Regions from separate parts of the Homo sapiens genome. Here all the other regions are linked to region 3. Evidence: promoter capture Hi-C in 16 types of primary human blood cells and fetal thymus (Javierre and others, 2016). All regions are on one chromosome and are shown on one strand. Each heading gives the region's core, a stretch centred on a gene start or on the middle of the fragment in contact. The rest is flanking DNA. Distances are from core to core; before and after follow the strand shown. Region 1 overlaps PEF1 (penta-EF-hand domain containing 1). Region 2 holds the start of PUM1 (pumilio RNA binding family member 1). Region 3 holds the start of ZBTB8OS (zinc finger and BTB domain containing 8 opposite strand).

What was found. Contacts are between HindIII fragments. The CHiCAGO score rates a contact against its expected background, and 5 or more counts as called.
Region 1: a contact is called between a fragment that was not itself captured here and the fragment with the promoter of ZBTB8OS in region 3, in 1 of 17 cell types (naive CD4 T cells). The highest score is 7.1, in naive CD4 T cells.
Region 2: a fragment that was not itself captured here is called in contact with the fragment with the promoter of ZBTB8OS in region 3 in 4 of 17 cell types (naive CD4 T cells, fetal thymus, total CD8 T cells and 1 more); the score reaches 9.0 in naive CD4 T cells.

Annotation. Positions count from the first base shown.
Region 1 is chr1:31,637,926-31,642,431 of GRCh38, reverse strand. All of the region lies in intron 1 of PEF1 (penta-EF-hand domain containing 1), which reads left to right. Among named protein-coding and RNA genes, the nearest start is that of PEF1-AS1, 4.0 kb to the left of the region's middle. The HindIII fragment of the contact is 1,755 bases long and covers 1,612-3,366 here.
Region 2 is chr1:31,061,615-31,066,504 of GRCh38, reverse strand. It overlaps PUM1 (pumilio RNA binding family member 1), which reads left to right and starts at 788. Exons shown (of 22, transcript NM_001020658.2): 1 at 788-889. RefSeq lists a silencer at 482-701 and enhancers at 30-944, 812-1,131. The HindIII fragment of the contact is 2,445 bases long and covers 1,922-4,366 here.
Region 3 is chr1:32,647,279-32,651,799 of GRCh38, reverse strand. ZBTB8OS (zinc finger and BTB domain containing 8 opposite strand) reads left to right here and starts at 1,250. Exons shown (of 7, transcript NM_178547.5): 1 at 1,250-1,367. The coding sequence starts at 1,271. It overlaps RBBP4 (RB binding protein 4, chromatin remodeling factor), which reads right to left and starts at 592. Exons shown (of 12, transcript NM_005610.3): 1 at 478-592. The coding sequence starts at 493. RefSeq lists enhancers at 1-43, 204-792, 793-1,380, 2,514-2,653 and silencers at 344-913, 4,170-4,239. The HindIII fragment of the contact is 3,350 bases long and covers 895-4,244 here.

The sequences.
Region 1 (4,506 bases), core at 1,240-3,739, 1.0 Mb after region 3:
TAGTAAAATTCAAGCACCCTTTGGTCCTATGGGGGAACGAGCTTGGTGGATTTCAGTGCTTAAGAGCTTAGTTTTTGAGGCCAGAGAGAGTTGATTTCAAATCCCTGCTTTGTCACTCCCTTGCAGAAGTTTGTTGCAAAAGTCTGAGACTCAGTTTTCCCTTTTTTGAAAAAAATTTTTTATTTATTTGTTTATTTTTAAGACAGAGTCTTGCTCTGTCGCCCAGGCTGGAGTGCAATGGCACAATCTTGGCTCACTGCAACCTCCGTCTCCCGGGTTCAAGCAGTTCTCCTGCCTCAGCCTCCCAAGTAGCTGGAATTACAGGCGCACGCCACCACACCTGGCTAATTTTTTGTATTTTTAGTAGAGACGGGGTTTCGCCATGTTGGCCAGGCTGGTCTCAAACTCCTAACCTCAGGTGATCCACCTGCCTCAGCCTCCCACAGTGTTGGGATTACAGGCGTGAGCCACCACGCCTGGACTAGTTTTCCCTTCTTTAGAATGGGGTCATAATAGTATCTACCTCAGAATTACTCTAAAGATTAAATGAGAAAATCCACGTAAAGTGCTAGGTATGGTGTTGGGCATGTAGAATACTCCAAGTGGAGGAGTAATGCAGTTATGCAGATTGAAGAGGCAATGTGATAAGTATTCAATGGGAGTAAGTGTAAGGTACAGCACGGGAGAGTGAGATACCTAACTCAGTCTAGGGGTGCATTTTTAAAAGAGGTGATATTTAAGCCAACAACTGAATCACTGGTAGAAATTAGCTGAGTGAAGAAAGGAATGCTATTCCAGCAGAGGAAATAGCTGCACAAAGCCCATGAAGCAGGTAAGACAGCCTAGTATTTTGGAGGAACTTTAAGAAGTTCAGTGTAGTTGTAGTGATGTGGGGGAAAGGGGTAGGAAATAAGACTAGAAAGGTAAGCAAGGGCCAGATCCCAAAGGGCCTTGTATGCCTTTTTGGGGAGTGTGACTTCATCCTAAGAGTAGTGAGGGAGCCAGTGAAGTGTTTTGTCCCATTTGTGCTTTGGAGTGCTTACTGTGGGGTGCTGTGAGAATGGATTGAAGCAGGAGAGACAGGAGGCAGGGATACCGGTTTTGACGCTATTGAGGTAATCTAGGCTAAAGAGAACTGTGACCTGGTAGAGGAGATTTGAGAAGCACTTGGGAGGTAGATTTGAGAAAACTTGGCCTTAGGTTTGGATGATTAAGCAGAACGGAGCTCCATTCACTGAGATGAGAACACAGGGAGGCATGGGTTTGGAGGGAAGGTCCAGTAGGCTGCTGGATATGTGGGTCTGTAGCTCAGGAGTGATGAAGCTGGAAAGATTTGAAAGTGTGAGCACAGAGGTAATTGAAGTCTGGGGATGGTTCTTGGCTCATTGTTTATTGGTTGCGTGCTTCTCTCCTATTTCAAGTGGCTCTGCTGGTGAATGCTTGAACTGTTCCTCTTGTCTTCCTGTGATTGTTTAACCCCTTAGTTTGGGCTTCCCACCTCCTCCTGTGCACTTGAAGGGTAGCTCTGGGGTACAAACTTGTCTTTGCAATGCTCCCTCCTCCATTCGTCATCAGGGCTCAGCTTGGAACAGCCGTTGATACCTTTAAGCTTCACAGGGGTCTTGAGGTTAGAAGACTTGAGTCCTCAGAACTGGAAAGAAAAAAAAAATACCGGACTTTCTGAGGTGGTTATTTGGGAGGAGGTAAGCTCCCTACTGCTTGCGCAAGTGCAGGTAGAGATTCCAGGTGGTTCTGCAGAGATTCCATTATTAACTGAGAGGTTGAACTGAAGAGTCTTTGGGGTGTCTTCCAAAATGTGGCTTGGCTCTCAAAGTGACTCTAGGTGCTGGGACGAAAAAGAATGAGATTTTTCTAAGAGTCCCTGATTTCTGGGCTTGAAGGCTCTGAGAGATCACCCAATCCAGCCTTCCCCTCTACCTCTGTCCACAGTAGAAATTCATTATATTTGACAAAGACATTTAGCACAGTCCCTCACACAGACACATGCTAGGCACTCACTCATTTATTGAGTGAACAAACAGAAGGGGGTAGTGTAGAGTCATGCAGACCCTGACTTGAATCCCAACTTGCCCATTCTAGCTGCATGATCTCAGGCATGTTATTAAACTCTCTGCCCCTTAATTTTCTCATCTGCAAAATGGAGATGACACTGTTTACCTCACAGGACTGAGGATTAGTGAGAGCTGGTTGAACTGGAAGCACCTAGCAGAGCCTCAGTAAATGTTTGTTGCCCCCAGTCCCCCCAGGGCATCAGATGTAGCTTATTTGCAATCAGCCAGAGCCCTAGAGATAGTTTTTCTGTGTTGCTTCAGAAGCTGCAGTTACTGAACTCTTCCTGTCCTTCCCCTCCACCTGCCTTCACAATCCTGTTTATCAGTATGAAATAACTCTTGGAAAAACTCTAAAAAGGGCTGGGAGCATGGAGTAGTGTAAAAGAACGTGGAGTCAGGGATGCTGTTTTTCATTTCTGGTTCAGACCTTTGCTAACAACTCAGTGACACTGGGTGACCCTCTGTGAGGTGGGGACCACCTCATCTTCTTCCCCAAACTTCCTGTGCAGCCTGCATTCTGTCTCAGTTGGCTCCACCTCCTTCATCTTGTGCAAAAGCTAGAAACCCGAGTCATTCTGAACACTTTCCTCACTCCTCCTCCATCTCTTTCCTAATCTAATTAGTCACCAAGTCATGTCTGGTCTATCTCTGAAATAGCTTCAGAATCCATTCCGTTCTCTTCATCCCCAAGTGTGCTGTCTGGTTCATGCCCTGCCTGCCCAGCACCTGGGCTACTGCCTCCCTCACTGGCTCATCCTCCACACCGCCGCTGGTTACTTCTCTAAACAAGGTTCTCATCACGTTCCTCTCCTATTGGAAACCCTTCTATAGTGCTCTGTTTTCTCCGGCATAAAGCCCCAACAAAACTCTTTAGAGTGGTGTTCATTTGTCCAAATATTTGTGGAGGCTTGCAGGTGCCAGGCACTGTGCTGGGCCCTGGGGTGCCATGATGAGTGAGGCGCAGTGTCTGCCCCTGGGGAGCTTACTGTTGGGTGGGGGAGATGCTAGACAGAAACTACTCTTAGACACTGATACCTCACGGCTAACTGAAATGCAGGGGGAGAGGTGCTTGGTCAACGAGTGTATAGAGGGCCTGCCTTTCTGGGTTCACACTGCATTCTTGGCTCTGCGGTTTAACTCATTCCCTGAATGCACTATGCTCACTCTTAAGTCTGTGCGTTTGTCTTTCTTCTCTCTTCTGTCTGGAGTGTCCTTCCCTGCCTGCCTTTTGGAAAATGTCTATGCATCCTTCAAGGACCATTTCCAATATCACTGCCACTTCCTCCAGGAAGCTTTCCTTGACCCACTTCATACATTGTTCATTTATTCATTCTGCAAACAGCACAAATTCCTCCATCTAAGCTTCCTTGATAGCACATAAGTAGATTTTTCTGATGGCACTGATCAGATTGTATCACAATTATCTGTGGGCCCCTTAAGGGCAGGACTTCATTTACTTGTGTCCTCAGATCTACTACAGAGCCTAGTACAATATTGTCACTCTGAAAATGCGTGCTGAATGAAGTCCTTTAACAGCTCCGTGGCTTAGTTTCTTCATCTGTAAAAGAGGGCAACTAACATCTTCCTTTTTTCTGTTAGGAGGCCATTGGCAAGATTCTGCCTGTAGTGTTTGTGTTTGTGAAAGTACTTTGTAAACTACAGAGGAGGTCTTCAAATGCAGGACAGAAAGGAAAGGGTTTAATTGCTGCCAGACTACAATAGCCAGAAGGGCAGGAGACCTGCCTGGCAGCACCTGCTTTGTTGGCCTGGGGATGTTTCCTAGGTGGTTTATAGGTGGTTTCCTAGGTGGGTTTTCCTAGGTGCCAGGTGCGGTTTATAGCTTTGCTCACAGGGCTTATAGTGGGGCAGCTACTTCTGGCTTCGTGTCTGGCCTGTTCTTTGGGTGTGCCCAGATTCTGCAGAGTTCCCACTCCCTTTCCATCCTATGCTGGAATCCTGAGCCCTATTGCTTAATGAAGGAGTGTTGTAGCAGGAGGCAGGGGGAGTCATTGGGTGCAAGGGAGTGGTCCAGCCTTGTCTCTTCCTCCAGCTCACAGCATTACTTGGGCAAGTCCCTCCCTCCCTCCCCCATCTGTAAAATGGGGGTTAGGTTAAGTGACTTGTCTTCTGGGTATTTCTCTTGTCACACCTCTCCAACCCCTTGGGAATCCTGTTCGTTCTCTAAGTCCTAGCTCAAATGCCACTCTCATGGAAACACTCCCTGATTTTACCCTCCTTCCTTTGCAGTCCTATGGCACATGACTTATGTCTCCATTTCAAACACCTGTTTTCCTTATGCTGTTTTGTTAGACGTTACACAGTGTCTACATGTTAAGTCTTGTTAACTGTGAGTGCCTTCAGATTGCTTCACTCTCCTTTATACCCCACCCCGCACAGTTCACCTGGCCCAGGACTTTGCTGATAACAGTAATTA
Region 2 (4,890 bases), core at 1,895-4,394, 1.6 Mb after region 3:
GCCTCAGCCTCCCGAGTAGCTGGGACTACAGGTGCCCGCCACCACGCCCGGCTAATTTTTTTGTATTTTTAGTAGAGACAGGGTTTCACCATGTTAGCCAGGATGGTCTCGATCTCCTGACCTCATGATCCGCCCGCCTCAGCCTCCCAAAGTCCAGGGATTACAGGCGTGAGCCACCGCGCCCGGCCTTCAATCTATTTTGAGTTTAGTTTGAGACAGTAAGACTAAAAGCACTTAACATACATTATTCCACTTAATCCTCCAGGCCATTCTGTTAAGTGGGGGTTATTTTCTTCTTCATTGTACAAATGTGGAAATGGAGGCAGGTCGATTTAAATAAGGCCGCAGAGCTAGAAAGCTGCAGAGAAGGGGTTTGAACCCTGCACCTCTGGGGCCAGGGCAGTGCGGGTGGCCGTCCGCGAACCCTGCTAGCTGTGGTGCTCGGGGGCAAGCTTCCGAGGGCGCGGCGGGCGCGAGGAGCGCGTCCGAGACTCGGTGGAGCGTCACCGGCGCAACCCCGCGTGCCCAGCTCCAGGCCGTGTTCTCCCAGGTGCGGGCCGGCGGGACCCCGCCTTCGGCCCTGGCGGCGCGCGCTCGCCTAGCGGGCGGGCACTCGCGCGCAGCGTTTGTGTTGCCTGCGAGTTTCCCGAGTTCACACAGGCCCTGGGTTGGCATGGCAACCAGGCAACCTGTTCCAGAGCCGCCAGCCTTCTCCGCACATGCCGCTGCCACCGCCGGGGCCGGGGCCGGAGCCTATCCCAGGATGCACCGCGCCAACCCAGTCCCCAGTGGGCCGCCATGTTGTCGGAGTGAAAGGTAAGGGGGAGCGAGAGCGCCAGAGAGAGAAGATCGGGGGGCTGAAATCCATCTTCATCCTACCGCTCCGCCCGTGAGTATCCGCACCCCACCGGCCCCAAACGCTGCTCCGGACCCCTAACGAGCAGATTGTCCCTTCATATTGGTGTTTGAGAGTGGTTGTGGGGGTGAGAAGGGCTTTGGAAAAGCCGCCGGGGCCCTGGCTGAGGCTTCTCACTCGCTGTTCCTCGTACATGTTTTGGAGTCAGCAGCAAGGCCCCTATTGTTATCAAAGGAGGGAGGGGGTGGGGAGCGGGGTCGAAGCTAGGAAAATGCTGGGGGTTTAGGCCCGAGCCCAGGGCGTAGACGTGCCTCTACATTTTTGCCTGGCCCTGTTGGGAACCACCGAAGATTGATGTTGCCATTCGGGTTGCTTTTTTTGATGGGTTTGCGAAGCCCCGAGTCTTCTGTGTGGCCATGAAGTGTAATTCTGTGCCACCCCGATTTCTTCGACTTCTTGAGCTTCCGTGGCAGCGCCGGAGGAGGAGGAACAATAAATCGCTTTAGAAGCAGCCGTGGCCCTTGTCCACAGGCGAGATTCACCGTGGGGGAACTTTGCGAGCCTTAAATGTGGAGAAGTGGCGATCAGGAAGTTTCAGAATGCTTTTTAGGCTCCTGGGTTGCTGTGGCCTTTTGTTTCCGTGTGAGCTTGTGTTTTTGGTGGGTTCTTCCTTTTTGAGCCTCCCGGTGTTGGTGTCTCTCTTCACTCAAAGAGGGGTTCACCCCTTGCTAGTAGGAAAATCTAGATACACAATACTAGTTTTAGTCCTCACAAACATGCTTGGTAAACATAGATCATTTGTTTTACTTGTCAGTACCATTCCCACGTCAAGTGAGGAATACACTCCTGTAACTTTTCCCTCCTATAGCCCCCCCCCCCCCCCCCGCTGAAAAAACAAAGCCAGAAACCCACACACAGCATTACCAGAGAAGGCTTTATTCTCCCGTAACTTAGATTGTTACCTTTTATTGTTCAATTAAGAAAACACTGTTCTCAGCCCTCGATACCATTTTGCTCAATTCCTGTTATTACTGGGATTAATTAAGAATAAGATTTTATGAAGCTTTTCCTGGGTTCTGTTTTAAAGTCAGTTAACTTCTGAAACAATAGGCTTAGCATTTTGTTTCTTGAAAGCACCTAAAAACTTACTAAGACAGGCCCAACCCCAAGAAATGTGGCTTCCGATGCAGTTTTCGTAAGCAAAATAAACATTTTGACCCTTTGCTAATTTTAACTTTATAAAACACTGGGGGGCTGTTGATTCTTTATCTGGGCTCTTGGGAAACGCTCTCCGGATTCTGAACTTTGAGTTAGTGTTTTGCTTTAGCGACAATTGAATTCATTTTGTTCAAGGCCACAGCTTTTTGAAGTTGGAATTTGTTTAGTTTAGGTTTAAAATGAACTGTTTTAAGATAAATTTATGACCACAGAATGTTTGTTAAGTGTGGTAAAAATAAACACCTTTTAAACCACTAAGCATTTTAGTAAAAGGTGAGCCATGGAAATAAAGTAAACCGTGTTCCTTTGAATTCAACTCAATTAGTGATATTTTAAAAAACTTTGTAAACATTTGAAAGCTGTGAAAGAGTAGCTGGACTGAGCACTTCTAGTTGCTTAAAGTACTTATAAGGTGTCATTTGTAAAAAAATCACATTTTAAATGCTACACGTATTAGTGAGCTTTTCTGATATTTAGGATACTGAGTTTTTAATTTTTGTGCCGTATTTGCCAAAATACCACAAAACTACCCAAGATAACATGTTAATTGCTTAGGTATTTGCTCACTTTGAAACTGTTCTGCCAGGTTTTCTCTGGTTTGAGAAACTGCCTTGCCTCTTTAGGTAAAGCAGGAAGTCTTAGGGCATACAGATAGCTTTACAAAAGCCAATTGTTTCGTTTGAACATTTTTATAGGAGTCTTTTCTTTCCCCCATTCCTTTTAGAATGAAGGTGTGTTTAGTGTGCGTCAGTGATAAACTCCTCTTTTATGTGGATATTCTTTGTTAGATAACTTTTTTCTTTTAAAAATTTTTATTTGTATAATTTGTGAGGTACAAGTGTAATTTGTACATGCGTGTATTGCGTAGTGGTGAAGCCAGGGCTTTTTGTGTGTCCATCACTGGAATAACGTACATTGTCCTCCTTAGGTAATCTCTCATTATCCTTCTCTCAGCCTCCTAGATAACTATTTTGAGAAGGCTTTTATTTCAGAAAAGATTGCATTTGCTGTTTTAGGAATTCTGTTAGGGACTGGAGTTGCCTTAACTAGGGGTAACTAAATTCTAAGAGTCTTAAGCACGATGACTTTAAATTTACCAAAAACTTTTATATTTATCTCATTTTCATTAAGAAAAACCCAAAACATTGAGAGTCATAGAGGAAGGATTTCTTTCATTTTCTAGATGAGGAAACAGGTAGTTTTGTTTAGTGAAAGAACTTGGGTTTTGGAACTCTTGGCCTGCTCTAGAACAAAGATTGTTAGGTCGAGATTTCCTTTTAGAACAGAATGGGACTGTCTAGTATTAGTACTAAGAGAGTAATGAATTCTTTAAAAAACCAAGCAGGGAGGCATTAGGCTGGTTTGCACTTTTGAAAGACCGATGGTGAAACCGGGCTATGACTTTTTGGTTTTGGTACTTGAGCAGGGACTAGTGTCTAGGTTAGACTACTCCAGTACCCTGCTAAGGTTCTGATGGATTGGAATTCTTAACCTAGACTAGGCATTTCCAAATTAGGCTTTAAACAAATTACAAATTCCATTGTGTCTTCTTAGGCTGGCTTCAAAAACATGAATTTAGTTGTGAGAAGCAAATGCTACTTTATCAGAAGGTTTATTTATTCAACAGAGAGATAGTAGATTTGTTATTCATGTGTTTTTGAAGCATCACAGTGGGGGTTGGGAGAAGAGATAAAGCATTTGTAGCAGTAGACTGTTAGGCCGATGGCTTTGAAATTAGACCGTGGCTGTGGACAGGTGTGTCCTAATTGGTAACTGATTTATTTACTTTGTAGCTTTTTTTTTTTTTTTTTGAGATGGAGTCTCACTCTGTCGTCCAGGCTGGAGTGCAGTGCCTTGATCTCGGCTCACTGCAACCTCCGCCTCCTGGGTTCAAGCGATTCTTCTGCCTCAGTCTCCCGAGTAGCTGGGACTACAGGTGCGTGCCACCACACCTGGCTACTTTTTATATTTTTAGTAGAGACGGGGTTTCAGTATATTGGCCAGGCTGGTCTGGAATTCTGACCTGGAGATGCGCCTGCCTCCGCCTCCCAAAGTGCTGGGATTACAGGCGTAAGCCACCGTGTCCGGACACTTTGTAGCATTTTTTAAAAGCACCCACAGGCTGGCAAGTGTTCTATCTTAAGTACAGATGCAGTTTTTGGTTTTAAGGAACTTTAGTGTTTCATAGTAACATTTGAGGGATTCTTTGTTGGTCTTCCAGAGGAGTAGAGGATACAAATGAGACATATTGTTGAGTTACTCCTGCAAGGGGTTAGTAGAAAGAAGTAAGCTTGGGAACGATTAGGGTTTGAATCCTTTCTCTGCTACTTGCTAGTTGAATGGCCTTGGAAACATCCCATTTTCCTCCTGTACCTTAGTGTTTTCATTTGTAAAATAGAAATAATAATGGCTACCTTTCAATGCTTTTGTGATGAGACAATGTCTGCGATATATTCATTACACTATTACCGTGTTGAAGCTTCTGTTTGTTTGTTTGTTTTTGAGACAGGAACTCACTCTGTCGCCCAAGCGGGTGTGCAGCCTCCCGCTCCTGGGCTCAAATGATCCTCCCACCTCAGCCTCCCTAGTAGCTGGGACTATAGGCACATGCCACCATGCCTGGCTAATTATTTTTAGTAGAGATAGGTCTTGCTATGTTGCCCAGGCTGGTCTTGAACTCCTGGGCTCAAGCTGTCTGCCCACCTCAGCCTCCCAAAGTGCTGGGATTGTAGGTATGAGCCACCACACCCAACTGAGGCTTCTGGTTTGTATAGTGAGGCTTTCTTTTTTTTTTATAATTTAAAAAAATTATTTTA
Region 3 (4,521 bases), core at 1-2,500:
AAATCCCCACGGCAGAGGCATCCACACTCTCCACTTTCGCGGCGCCGAAACTCCTCGGGCCATCCCCGCCAAACACTCCGTTACCCGTTCCAGGCCAAGGGGCCAGCCAGGCCTTCGGAGCACGCTCGTGCGCGCCGAAACTCACAAGCCCGACGAGGAGGCCCGAGCTCCGAGCCTTGTGGGTAGGAAGCGGTGTCCCCACGCTCGGGACAGAGGCCGAGAAACCGATATCGGAGGCAGGAAGAGAAACAAACACTGGCCGGGGGCCCCACCGCTGGCTTCGCCAGCTGCGACCGAAATCGGTCCCAGGGAACTGGCGAGCCGTTAGCACGCCCCGCGGGGAGTTCCCTCTTCACGCCTTCAGTACCGGGGACTGCACTCGGCAAACTCGGGCCTGCCCTCACTGTTAGGCCATGTCGAGGCCGCGGCTCAGCCCAGGCACCCACTGCCCTCCTGGGTCGGCCCCGGCACCCTCACCTTCCTTGTCGGCCATGGCGGGCAGGCGAGCCGGGGGAATCCTGGGGTCGAGCGTTGCGGGAGGGGCGGGGAGGCTGCAAGAGCTCGCTCTGTGCGCGCGGCCTCTATTGTTTCCTGCGCCCCCAGCGCGAGGGCTGACTCGCGCACCTTCGCGCCAACATCAGCCAATGGGAGCGCTCCTAATGGCGGGATGGGCGGGGAAGCCGCGTTCGCGACCAATCCAGACGCGCGGAGTAGCTTTCCGCGGGGACCGAGGCGCGCGCTCCGCCCCTCCCCCCACGCCTCCCCGAGCCGACTTCCAGCGATTGCGCGCGCCGGCGTTGACGGGACTGCGCCCGGTCAGGGTCACGTGAGAGAGGTTTGGTCCGCACACTCCCGCGGCAAGAGGGCAGCCATTTTCTTGAAGGCTATTAAGCTTACGACCCTTTCAGAGTACTGAGATGAAAAATCTAGAATGCCTTCGGGTCTAGTTATCAATTTTGGGGGTGAAGCGGGGGAAAGAACCTCGCCAGTCAGACCCAGACGGGTTTCATTCAAGGTGCCCTTCAACGTTTTTCCTTAGTCTTTGGAAAGAACTAGTAATGAAGGAATCGCAGAAGATGGGGTTTTGGCTTTTTAAATATGCGATCCAAGCGGCAGGGTAGGGACTAAAGTAGGTCAACAGCCAACTCCGAGAAAGGAGTGTGGTCCTTTAAGGGTGTGCGCCAAGGGGCGGAGTCTAGAGCGGAAGTAGTAACTCCGGGCCGAAGTCCGGTGGATGAAGGGCGGAAGTAGAGTGTCTAATCCTGCAGTCATGGCGCAGGAAGAGGAAGATGTTAGAGATTACAATTTGACTGAAGAACAGAAGGCGATCAAGGCCAAGTATCCGCCAGTCAATAGGAAGTACGAGTGTGAGTAGGTGGCTTACTTCTCTCTTTACATGTAAGCACACAGGCATCCCCTCTCCTTACCCGCGGCTTCCTGCTGCTCTTTCTACTGTGCCCCATGGGTACTTCAGGCATGATCCCATTTGTGCCGGCTGTTGTAGTCGCGTTCGTACTTCTCCTGGGGATGCTGAAGGAAAAAGCCACCTGGTTTAATAGTCGCGAAACCTGGCCTCCCTCATTTACAGTCTCTTGAACTTCTTCCACATGTGCCTAATCACATTTATCTTCGTAAATTCTAAAGATAACCATATTTTCAGGCGTTTGCAGGGTTGTTACCCCCATGTATTTCCCAACGGTGAGATTAGAGTGTGCGAGGTTAGAGGACTCGGAAAGCTAATTAGGGGATTTCTAACTTGATGTTTCACCTCGATCATATTAGCAAAAAACCTGGTTTTGCCATTTATGATTGTGATTTTTAAAAATGATTATTTTAGGCCGGGCTCGGTGGCTGAGGCCTGTGATCCCAGCACTTTGGGAGGCCGAGGCGGGCGGATCACCTGAGGTCGGAAGTTCGAGATCAGCCTGACCAACATGGAAAAACCCCGTCTCTACTAAAAATACAAAATTAGCTGGGCGTGGTGGAGCATGTCTGTAATCCCAGCTACTCGGGAGACTGAGGCAGGAGAATCGCTTGAACCCGGGAGGCGGAGGTTGCGGTGAGCCGAGATCGCCCCATTGCACTCCAGCCTGGGCAACGAGCGAAACTCTGTCTCAAAAAAAAAAAAAAATGTGTGTGTGTGTGTGTGTGTGTGTGTGTGTGTGTTTTTAGAGATGGGGTCTCGCTCTGTCGTCCAGGCTGGAGTGCAATGGAGCGATCATAGCCCGCGCTGCAGTGCCCAGCTGGTTTTGCCATTTATTCGCTTAGTGACTTTAGGCAAATCACATAACCTATCTTTGTCTCTTAAATTCTATATTAAACGTTAAGCTGTCATCCCTAAAGGTAGCTGTGGTTTGGGGAGCACAAATCTGACTTTTATTTATCTGCTTAAAATCTTTCATTAATTTCTCATTGTCCTCTCTGTAAAATCTACTTATTTACCATAGTATTCTAGGCAATGTGCTTTCTGGAGCTGGCATACCTCCTAGCATATCCCCTTCTCTCACTTAAAAACAATTTTAAAATATTATAGGCCGTTTGCGGTGGCTCACACTTATAATCCCAGCACTTTGCGAGACTGACGTGGGTGGATCACCTGAGGTCAGGAGTTCCAGACCAGCCTGGCCAACATGGTGAAACCCCGTCTCTACTAAAAATACAAAAATTAGCTGCGCATGATGGTGGGCGCCTGTAATCCCAGCTACTCGGGAGGCTGAGGCAGGAGAATTGCTTGAACCCAGGAGGGTGGAGGCTGCAGTGAGCCGAGATCACACCACTGCACTCCAGCCTGGGCAACAGAGTGAGACTGTCTCAAAAAAAAAAAAAAAAAAAAAAAGGCCTGGTGCTGTGGCTCACGCCTGTAATCCCAGCACTTTGGGAGGTTGAGGCGGGTGGATCACCTGAGGTCAGGAGCTTGAGATCAGCCTGGCCTGGCCAACATGGTGAAACCCCATCTCTACTAAAAATACAAAAATTAGCTAGGCATGGTGGTGGGTGCCTGTAATCCCAGCTGCTTGGGCGGCTGAGGCAGGAGAATCGCTTGAACCTGGGAGGCGGAGGTTGCAGTGAGCCGAGATTGCACCACTGCACTCCAGCCTGGGCGACAGAGCCAGACTCCATCTCAAAAAAAAATTATTTTTAATAGGTCATATATATTGATTTGAAATTCAGAAAGTGTAACATAGGCAGTGAAAAGTAACTCTGGCAGCCCCCATCCTCAACTACCTAGTCCCCCTCTGTAGAGCAGTCATCGTTACCTTTTTCTTACATGTACATACCTAGATGTTCTAGCATTTGCTTTAACCAATTTTCAGTTGATGGACGTTTAGGCTATTTCTACTCTTGTGGTATTAGAAACAGTGCAGCAGTGAATACACTTGTACATCCACTGTTTTGTACATGTGCAAGTGAATCTGTAGAATCAAGTTCTCCAAGTTTTTTTTGTTTCCATTGCTAAGACTCCTACATTTTTTAAAAGGATATTTTAACTTGGACAGTTATTGCCAAATTGCTCTCTATAGGAGTTGTACCAATTTATACTTTCACTAGTATTGTGTGAATGTGCCTCTTTCCTCCCACTTCTACTAATTGTTACCATACTTTTTTATCTTTTCTAATTTGTAAAGTATACTTACTGTATTTTTCTTATTGTAAGTGAAGTTGAACATATTATACTGTTTTGGAAGCTATTTGTATTTCCCATTCTGGGGTGTGTATGTTAATATTCTTAGCCCTTTTTTCTCTTGGGTTATTTTTTTTTTGTCTTGGGTTGTTGGTTTTTCTTACTAGGCAGAAAGTGTTTTTATGCAATGCAGTTCATTAACCAGCGGTCCCCAACCTTTTTGGCACTAGGGACTGGTTTCACGGAAGTCAGTTTTTCCACCAACGGGGGTTGTAGGGGAGGATGGTTTCAGGATGATTCAAGCGCATTACATTTATTGTGCATTTTATTTCTATTATTATTACGTTGTAATATATAATGAAATAATTATACAACTCACTGTAATATAGAATCAGTGGGAGCCCTGAACTTGTTTTCTTGTAACTAGATGGTCCCATCTGGGGATGACAGATCATCAGGCTTTAGATTCTCATAAGGAGCACACAGCCTAGATCCCTCAATGTGCAGTTCACAATAGTGTTCAAGCTCCTATGAGAATCTAATGCTGTGCCTGATCTGAAAGGAAGTGGAGCTCAGGCAGTAATGTTAGCAATGGGGAGCTGTTGTAAATATAGAAGAAGCTTTGTGAGCTCATGTCCTGCTGTGCTGCCTGGTTCCTAACAGGCCACCAACTGGTACTGGCCAGGGGGTTGGGGACCCCCTGCATTGACCCTTTCTTTCTTTTCTTTTTTTTTTTTTTTTGAGACAGAGTCTCGCTTTGTCATCCAGGTTGGAGTACAGTGGCATGATCTCCAGTCACTGCAACCTCTGCCCCCCAGGTTCAAGTAATTCTTCTGCCTCAGCCTCCTGAGTAGCTGGGACTACAGACATGCACCACCACACCTGGCTAATTTTTTTTT